Regions from separate parts of the Homo sapiens genome. Here regions 1 and 2 are each linked to region 3. Evidence: promoter capture Hi-C in 16 types of primary human blood cells and fetal thymus (Javierre and others, 2016). All regions are on one chromosome and are shown on one strand. The core of a region is centred on a gene start or on the middle of the fragment in contact, and the rest is flanking DNA. Distances in the headings are between cores, read along the strand shown. Region 1 overlaps LOC107986129 (a long non-coding RNA gene). Region 2 has its middle 7.8 kb from the start of MGLL. Region 3 holds the start of PODXL2 (podocalyxin like 2).

Region 1 (3,589 bases), core at 271-2,770, 220 kb before region 3:
TTGAGGTCAGGAGTTCGAGACCAGCCCGGCCAATATAGTGAAACCCTGTCTTTACTAAAAATACAAAAATTAGTCGGGTGGGGTGGCACACGTCTGTAATCCTATCTAGTCAGGAGGCTGAGGCAAGAGAATCACTTGAACCTGGGAGGCGGAGGTTGCAGTGAGCTGAGATCACGCCAATGTACTCCAGCCTGGGCGACAGACCAAGACTCCGTCTCAAAAAAAAAAAAAAAAAAGAAATAGGATTGATCACTTCATTAAGGTATCAGTAGAGGTAGAGATGCAAAGAGCCCTCCCTCTTTGCAAGAAACCAGGCTTTTAAATCCTTTCTTGCATTGTAGTTTCTATCCAAGTGCTGTGCACATAGTAACTGACAGTCAAAATAGAAGAAAAGCAAATATCTGTTGGGCTTTCTCTTTTTTTTTTTTTTGGAGATGGAATCTCGCTCTGCCACCCAGGCTTGAGTGCAGTGGTGCGATCTTGGCTCAGTGCAAGCTCTGCCTCCCAGGTTCACACCATTCTCCTGCCTCAGCCTCCCGAGTAGCTGGGGCTACAGGCACCCACCACCACGCCCAGCTAATTTTTTGTATTTTCAGTGGAGATGGGGTTTCACCATGCTAGCCAGGATGGTCTCGATCCCCGACCTTGTGATCCGCCCGCCTCAGCCTCCCAAAGTCTGTTGGACTTTCTCTACAGGTCACATATAATATCTCACTTAATTCTGTCAACCTGAGAGTCATCCTTATCCCCATTTTACAGATGAGGTAGTTGATGCTGAGAAAGATTAGGTGGCACCCTAAGAGGTATACTGGGAGTCAGACGCATGATCTGTGTCATTTCCCTGCCCTACCCTAACGAGAAGTCTGTTCCCATCTCCTTAGTCTGGGGCAGTGGAAATGGTGCCTGACTTGTTTCTGTAAACTTTGGCAATGGGAATACCCTGGGACTCTAAAAACCTCCACTGGCCAGACATGGTGGAAAGTGTCTTTAAAACCATGTCAGAGCTCCTGTTTCCAAAGCAGATGTTTGGGTCAGCGCTCATTTATTACTTGCTGACATCGAGTAACCTCTTAAATCCTGAAAATTCTAGTTTTGAGAAATCAGACTGTCACTAACAAGTCAGCATGTCAGAATAAATAAAGCAGAAAATTGAAGCACGTTATGTTGGCTTTCCCAAAGGCATTCTAGAGATCACTAATAGAGCACTCAAAGGCACGAAAAGGCGGGGCTGCTCATGGCCTCTTGGCATCCCAGCTCCCTTTCTTTCACATGGAAATAGGACCTCCCATTTTTAGCTGGGCAGATGGCTGCCCATATGGCTGCCCAGAATAAGAACTACATTTCCCAGCCTTCCTTATAGCCAGGCTCCATCATGTCGGCACACCATGTGAGCCACATGTACAATTCCCAGCTACATCCTTAGAGGAAAGAGGCCTGTCCTCCCTCTCCCCCTTTCATCTGGAGCATAGAAGGTGGACGAGGTGAAGACTGTATTGTAAATATAGCAATGGTGGAGGTGAATAGGGAATGCCTTGTGACTAGGGACATGGCTGGGTGGAACACAGATGTGCAAGGGTGAGTGAGCCCCACATGGGACCATGTGGATGGGGCCGTGTCCTGGGATGGCTGAAGGAGCTGGGGTTTCTCGCTGAAAAGCCTCTTACCAGCCCTGAACTGCTCATGCCCATACTATTATGTAAGAGAAATACACATCTTTCTTTCTAAAGCCACTCTGATTTGGGAACATTGTTTAGGACAGCTGAACCCATGTCCAAACTAATACCCCAGGCCAAATCAACTTCATCTTCTCCCAACTGTCCTAGTCCACTTACACTGCCATTCTAAGCACAGCTGGCACCTCCACACATGCTTTTGCTGATGAGCCTTGCATAGGCCATTTCCTCTCTTCCCCTCTCTTCCTCTGCCTGGTAAACTCCTGCTCAACCTTCCACGCTCCACCCAGATACCCACTCCTCCTGGAGCCTTCCCTACCTCCTATCCCTTGCCAGGCAGGATTCATTACTTCCTCCTCTTTGAGCCTATATGAAACTGTCTGTAGCTCTCTTAGCATTTACCCTGTGGTGCCCTAATTATTCGCTGCTGTGTTGATCTCTCAAACTAGACTGAAGTTTCCTTAGAATCAGGGACCTAATTTCCTGCAGGTTTGAATCCCCAGCACTAACTTTGTAAAAGGCACTAGGAAATCTTTGGTGACTGGATGAATGAACACAGATGATATAATTACATGTGTACCCATACAGATCCTCATTCTTTTAAAAAGTGTTTCCTTCTTTGCTAAGACAACACTTGTGAATAGCACACCCATTCCTCCTACAGAAACTCAACGAGCACAAATCTACTATTACATAATACATAAGCCAGGGGATTCATTATACATTGCGTGAAAACCTGCTTTGCAGATTTGTCAGGTCTCCTTAACAAAACAATCCTGCCATAGACCCACCCGCTCTGGTATTGCAGCGACTGCAGGATTTTAAATCAAAGGCTTTTCTCAGTCTCTCTCTGTCTTCTTTCAGCTCAGAGCAGGCAATCTGGACTGCAGTACTAGCAGTTTCCAGAAAATGCTCAGGCGTGCTCACAGCTAACAAAGAGATGAGCGCTATTTCCTGCCCTGGAACGCTGGAGAGTTCAAGGGCTTCTGAGGCTAGAGTGTTCTGATCCAGTGAGTGTCATGCTTTGCTTTGATTCTGTGTCAGATATCACACCAACTCCAGCAAGTCTGCAGGTGCATTTTATACTAATTTTGTACTAACACTAATATTGTTATTCAAAATTAATTTTCCCTGTCTAGAAATATAATTCTAGCATTTTCTAGGTTTTGACACAACTTGTATGCAAGTCTTAGAACCCTTCCATGCCCATGGCACGCTGCTGGATGTGTCTCAGAACTCATCTGGAAACCCTCTGGGACTGAATCTGCCCCATTTTAAACACTCCTGTAGATGGCCTCTCTGTTCTCATGTTGAGCATGGATTTTATTTTTATGGAGATTTATCTTAAATATCCTTAATTTGTAAATATCCTGAAATTATTCTCAGAAAAAAATCCACTGTCTAGCTCATCCCTCTAACTGAGGATTTTAAAAATTAACTGAGAACACGGATTCCCTTCTCTGGGCATGCATTACTAAAGTCCATAGAATGCCTATATTATCCATTTATGTGCTTTTTGCTTAATTTTCTGTCTCCTTGAGCTAATACATAAGCTTCAATAAGAGTGGGCGCCTGTTCATTCTCGCTGTATCCCCAACACCTGGCACGTGGGAGGCACTGGATGGATCTGCAGAGTGAATGCATGATTGTGTCTTCTTGTGTAGATGCCTTTGCTGCCTCAGGTGATCACTTGAGTGGGCCATGCCTGGGCTATTGGAAAAGCAAGGCTTGTTTTGAGTGCTTGTCGCCCTGCTGTCTTCACTCCTCCTCCTTCCCTCTGTCAAGCATGTGGCACCAGGCTGACCCCCAGGCCTCTGCTCTTGCCATCAACACATGCTGTCTCCCCTTATGGTTCAAGATTTTTGTTTTGTTTCCCTGATTTCTTTCAAGCACCCCCTCAGGTTAATTAGATTAAC
Region 2 (3,083 bases), core at 582-3,081, 200 kb before region 3:
CCTGCCCACTCTCCTGGGTCAGCACACTCTCCCCCACAGCTGCAAGGGCCATTTCCGGCCAACACCCACATCTCTGTCTCCGGTCTGACCTTCTTCTTCAGCTCTAGATCCTCAAATCCATCTGCCCCTGCAGGCACCTCATGCTCAACCCATCATCCAACACTAACAGTCCAGTGTAACCATATCCCTCTGCTCTTTGAGAAAAGCTAGGAATCTGGATTTGCATGTGAAATCACCAATTTTTAAAACTCACATTAAAAAAACCATTTCAGATATAGAAATACTTTTTAATGGGTCAGACTTAACATGAAGGCCCCCAAGCTGCCACCCCTGACTTAATACAAGCTGACTAGCCACCAGGCACCATGCTGATGTTCAGTCCATCTTAACCAAGGCCCTAGAGGGGGTATTCCTATCCACATTCCCCTGTTTCAGGTGAGGAGGCAGGCTTAGCAAAATAGAGTAACTCACCAGGAAGTAGCACCACTAGTCAGTGGAGCTTGCTTCTGAGGCTTAGGTATTTTTGCCCAACTTTATTTCCCCTTAAGTTTGATAGTACAGTCTTGCTTTTCCTCTATCATTCATTTTCAGTACCATTTCCATTCCCAACCTCCACTCCTTTCCCATTAGAAGTGGTTTATAATTGAAGTATACAACCACCCAAATTCTTGTGCAATATCACATACACTAAAACTGCTAATAAGAGAAACTCTTGGTCTTCTTACTATCTCCCGGCTTGCTCTTTCTCCTTTTCTCTTCACAGGTATTTCCAGTATGTTCTACTCTCCTCAAACCTCAGAGCATCTCTGAAGGCCACACAAGAACATTTGTGTTTTAGCCCATTCTCATGCTGCTATAAAGAAATACCTGAGACTGGGTAATTTATAAAGAAAAAAGGTTTAATTGGCTCATGATTCTGCAGGCTATACAGGAAGCATAGTGGCTTCTGCTTCTGGGAGGCCTCAGGAAACTTTCAATCATGGCAAAATGTGAAAGGAAAGCAGGCACGTCCTACACAGCCAGAGTAGGAACAAGAGAGAGAGGGAAAGGTGCTACACACTTTTAAACAACCAGATCTCACGAGAACTCACTCACTATTACCAAGACAATACCAAGGGGGATGGCACTAAACCATTCATGAGAAATCCATTCCCATGATGCATTCACCTCCCACCAGGCCCCACCTTCAACATTGGGGATTACAGTTCAAAATGAGGTTTGGTGGGGACACAGATCCAAACCATATCAACTTGTAGGGGCAGAAAGACGTCACCTTTACTTGAATTGCAACCCTTACCTTTTCATCGCAGGCTGTAGGAGCAGAGCCTGACAACCAGCACTTGTCTTGGAGATCACTGCATCTAGAATAATCCTGCCCTAGAGATCTAGGTGGACACACAGGCAAGTAGGGGCCTGGTGGCCCACTGATTTCCCTACTGAAATAAAAAGCCAGATACAAGACTTCTACATCTGCAAAGGTGGAGTGGATGTGCTTTTCCCTACTTTTCCCACTAAATATGACTAAAAACCCTGGACATTATGTATACAACCAACGTAAGAGGATGCTGAAAGGAAGAGATAAAAGGCAAACCTGCTGGGGACCTCAGGACCTGAGGAACAACATGGTGGTGAGTTCCCTGGGTTTTTTGTTTTGCCTTATACATTTGTGACTCTAGAGAAACACAGGTAAAACAAAAGGTTTAAATCAGATCCAGAGTCTGATGACATAATACAAAAATGACCAAGTTTCAATAGAAAATCATTTATCTTATCAAGAACCAGAAAGATCTAACACTGGATTAGAGAAGACAATATATACCAACAGGAAAACAAACAGATTTTTAAAGCAGTCACAATAAAAGTTCTCCAACAGGCAATTATAAACATGCCTGAAACAAATGAAAAATAAAAAGTCTTGGCAAAGGGATAGAAATTCTTAGCAAAGAAATAGAAGATATAAAGAAGAACCAAATGGAAATTTTAGAGTTGAAAAATACAATAACTGAAATAAAAAGCTCAATGGATGAGCTCAAAGGTGAAATAGAGGGAACAGTGCAATAAGCTGGAACATAGGACAATAGAAATGACTCATCTGAATAACAGAGAGAAAATAGGCTTAAAAAAAAAACCCACAAAAAAAAAACCAAAATGAACAGAGCCTTCAGGGACCTACGGAACTATAAGAAAAGCTCAAATATTCATGTCATCAGAGTCCAAAAGGAGAAGAGAAAAGAGGATGAGGCTGAAAAAGTACTCAAATAAGTAATGGCTGAAAATGTCTCAAATTTGGCAGGAGACAAAAAAAAACTATAAATAAAAAAGCTGAATGAATTCCAAATAAAATATACCCAAAGAAACCCATACCAAGAAACATCATAGTCAAACTTCTGAAAACTAAAGACAAAGAAAAAAATCTTGACAGCAGGGAAAGATAAATTACATGTTACCTATAGGTAATTTCCTTATAAGGAAAAAAAATTTGAATGACAATGGATATCTTATCAGATAGCATTAAGGCCAGAATGTAATGGTATGATATTTTTCAAATGCTGAAAGAAAATAATTTTTAATCCAGAATTCTTTATGTAGTGAAAATATCCTTCAGGAATGAAGGGGAATCAAGACATTCTCAGATAAAGCAAAACTAAGAAAATGTTGCCAGCAGACCCATCCTCAAAGAATGGCTAAAGGAATATATCTAAACCAAAAAGAAATGATAAAAGAAGAAACCTTGTACTATCATGAAGAAAGAACACAGTGAACAAAACTATGGGCAAATAAAATAGACTTTTATTCTCCTCTTTTCTAAATTATATTTGATGATTGAAGCAAAAATTTTAATACTATCTGATGTGAATCTCAGAGTATGTAGAGAAAATAGTTAAGGCAATTAGAGTATAAATGGTGCAGAGTAAAGGGACATAAGAAGATGTTAGGTTTTTATATTGCATAAGAACTAGTAAAGTGGCATCAGTAAGCTGTGATACATAAAATGCAGTACATAGAGCAACCACTAAAAAGTCTATACAAAGAGATTCACTCAAACACAGTATAAATAAATAAAACTGGAATTTAAAAATGTT
Region 3 (3,177 bases), core at 494-2,993:
GTCCATGAGGACGTTGCTGGCCAGTTCTGGTTTATGACTGTCACACAAAGAAATAGCAGACCAATCAATTGATGTTTATTTATTGAATGTCGCCTTTTTCCAAAGAGGATTTACGGCGTGAAAGAATACAGGTGGGTTTGTGTGAGTGTCTGAGCCAACACTGATGGACATGTTTTTCTGTGCACACCACCTAGGGCCTTTCTTCATCCCTAGACTGACTGTGGAGAAAATGTACCCTCCCTGAACTGAGCCTTCCCATGACATGCACAGGAATGTGCGAGGGACCACTTTCCCCTCCCAGCCATTTACCCTGGGATTCTGCCACTCTGAGTCCCAGGTTCATGGCCCACCTCAGGCAAAGACTGTTCCTCCCTTCCCATAGAGACCCTTCACTAGTTTCTCTTTCACTCACACACATCTGGACACAAAGTGCCTGTGTCTTCATGGGCCAGCTGCGTGGGAAATGTCCTGTGCACACTCCTACATGCACATACACACTCCTACATGCACATACACACATCATACTAGGACGCTATTTTGACGTGTGCATCAGAAGTGAAGTTACAGCTGGCTGATGAGTGTGCACAGGCACACATGCACACTTCCTCATCCGGGTATTCCTCCAGCAGCACCAGTCACACCTTAACATACACCGTAACACACTCCCTCTGCTCTGCCAGTGTGTGCAGGAGCTGCTCAGCTATGACCTTATTTGACCCACCTTTGCAGACAGCCCTTCTCCCCGCCATTTCCATAGTGGCCGCCTGCCTCATGGGCTGTCACACCCCATGCCCACCTCCCTACACACCCCCTCCACTAAATCCCCGTCTGCGCTGGAAGCCATCAGGAGGCCCGTCTCTTTCTCTCTCAGGCAGACACATCCCTTTCACACCTGTGCCACACCCCCAGCCCGCCACGCACCCACACAGCCCGCCGCCCGGCGTGGCTGCTGAATGGAAACCACACATCTGAGTCTCACACCTCCCTCGTGTGTGAGCTGCGTGGGAGCCTCCCGCCGTGTGCTGTCACGGGCCTTCCGTGGCTGTACGCCCGTTTTTGTCAGCTCCTAATAGAGTCGCCCAGAACAGGAGAGAATACCCATTCACCGTGACACACTCACACTCCCTCCCGGCAACGCCACGCGTAAACAGCCACCCGCGCCTCAGCGTACCCGCCCCACACTCCGCAGGCGGCCCCTGGGACCTTCACAATGCGGCCTCCTCCCCGCGTGGCTGTCACACACGCCTCTTCCCCCGAGTGCGCAGGCACACAATGCACTCGCACACACACAAGCACACGCACACACATGCACACCCACACGTGCGCGCCCCCCCGGCCCGCGAGGCAGCAGCCTGCGCACCTGCCCCTGAGAGCCGCGGCGTGGGGGCCACGGTGCTGTGTCCCAGCTTCACCGCCGCGCCTTTGTCGGGGGTCGCCCGGCACGCCAGGCGCCCGCCGCGGCCCCCACGCACCCACTCCTCGTGCGCGTGTGTCGGGGCGGCGCCGCGGCCCGGCCGGGACACGCGCGCTCCCGGCGGCGCCGCACTCTGGCCCCTTTGTTGGCGGCCCGGGGAGCTGTCCAGCACCGCGCCCACGCCGCCGCCCGCCCTCCCGCGCTCGGGCCCGGAGCGCACTCACCCCCAACCAGCAGAAGCAGCAGCGGCGAAAGCAGCGGCGGCAGCCGGGCGGCCCGCAGCAGCCGGCCCATGGTGTAGCCGTCGCCGCCTGCAGCCGCAGCGGCGCGGCGCCCGGGCCCGCGTCAGGGGCCGCGCGGGCGGCGGCGGCGGCGCGCGCCCGCCCCATTGGTCCGCATGGCCGTCACTCACGCCCGGCCCCGCCCGGCCGCGTGCCGCGGGCGCGCCCCCGCGGAGACGAAGCGGACGCGCGGGCGGCCGTCCCTCCGCCCGTCCCCCCCGCCAGGCCGGCCAATCAGCACCGCCGAGGCTCGGGGGCTTGGCCCGGCCGCCCGCAGACCTGGGCCTCGCACCTCGCGCCCGGATGCCGCTCTCTCCCCGCGCGGTCACCCGTTCCCTGGGAAGCAGAGTGGGCAGCTGTGGCAGATGGGACTGATGGGACGAGGACGACGCGTGGAAATGACTGTGAGGGTGGACAGAGGCCTGGGGTAAGGAAAGACTTCTCAGGGTACTTAGATTGGGTGAGCCCTGAAGGAGAACCTGAGAGCAAAGAACTGGACTTTAGAGCTAGGCAGTCTGGCTCAGGATCAGATTGGTTCCGAGACCTTGAGTAAATCTCTTCTCACCTCTGGGCCCCACTTGCCCCATTTGCTAACTGGGGGGTTTTAGATTATGAGAGAGGTGCTGACTTCTCTAACATGTGCTCCCTTTTGGCAACTGAAGATCCTTAATATGCCAAGCACTGTAGTGGTAAATAAAACAGGCACATCCCTCGTCCTCATAGTTTAGGCTCGTAGAGAAAACAGACTGAAAAACAAAATGGACACACATATGGTCCTATGATTGCAATTGGTAGTCGGTCTGTTAAGGAGTATAAGGGGCTAGGAGACAGCACAGAGGGGAACCTTATGCTTGCCTTCCTGAAGAAACAGCATTTAAGGTAAGCTGGCTGGCATCTGGAAGGATGAGTGGGTATTAGGTAGGAGATTGGGTTTGGGAGAGAACTTACAAGGCAGAGGGAAAAGCTCACTGATAGAGTTCCTGAGTTAGAAAGAAGCTCAGCCTCTTTTAGGGAGAGAAAAACCCCGACTACCCTTTTAGAAGTACTGCAGCTTAAATATACAGCAACCACAATTTTGTGGAATGTTACTTTATATATACCATATTAGGAAAACACTTCTTTAAAATAACAAATCGTTATTTGAATATGCTTTTTCAAAGTATATCCCCACCCCCCTATGCAGGGGTATAGCATCAGACATTGGAGATAATCTCACGGGACTCTTCCAGACTAAATATTAATACTTAGGAGAAATAGGAGTTGGGGTGGAGGAGCATAGGGAAGAAATGGGTTCCAGACAAAAGAAAGAACATGAGCAAAATGTAGCACCTTTTATTTGGTGGGTGTTAGGGGTACTAGAAAAGTGGCTGTCAGCTGGGCTTGGAAAAGAGAAATCCAGGGTGTGTCTAGACCCAGCTTCCCTCTTCTTTCCTCCTCTGAGGATGAAAGGAGCATCCCTTTGGTTTTTTGTTGTGTTTTGTT

Evidence for each region. The method cuts DNA at HindIII sites, captures the fragments that hold promoters and counts their contacts. A CHiCAGO score of 5 or more calls a contact.
Region 1: a contact is called between a fragment that was not itself captured here and the fragment with the promoter of PODXL2 in region 3, in 1 of 17 cell types (neutrophils). The highest score is 5.4, in neutrophils.
Region 2: a fragment that was not itself captured here is called in contact with the fragment with the promoter of PODXL2 in region 3 in 1 of 17 cell types (neutrophils); the score reaches 8.9 in neutrophils.

The regions. Positions count from the first base shown.
Region 1 is chr3:127,847,308-127,850,896 of GRCh38, reverse strand. The region is part of intron 4 of LOC107986129 (a long non-coding RNA gene); the gene reads left to right. All of the region lies in intron 1 of LOC105374096 (a long non-coding RNA gene), which reads right to left. Among named protein-coding and RNA genes, the nearest start is that of MGLL, 27 kb to the right of the region's middle. The HindIII fragment of the contact is 3,417 bases long and covers 1-3,228 here.
Region 2 is chr3:127,828,726-127,831,808 of GRCh38, reverse strand. No RefSeq gene overlaps it. Among named protein-coding and RNA genes, the nearest start is that of MGLL, 7.8 kb to the right of the region's middle. The HindIII fragment of the contact is 9,678 bases long and covers 1-3,083 here.
Region 3 is chr3:127,627,751-127,630,927 of GRCh38, reverse strand. It overlaps PODXL2 (podocalyxin like 2), which reads right to left and starts at 1,743. Exons shown (of 8, transcript NM_015720.4): 1 at 1,639-1,743. The coding sequence starts at 1,708. It overlaps LOC107986126 (a long non-coding RNA gene), which reads left to right and starts at 1,965. Exons shown (of 2, transcript XR_001740892.2): 1 at 1,965-2,122. RefSeq lists an enhancer at 1,041-1,100 and silencers at 1,501-1,630, 1,741-1,810. The HindIII fragment of the contact is 9,170 bases long and covers 1-3,177 here.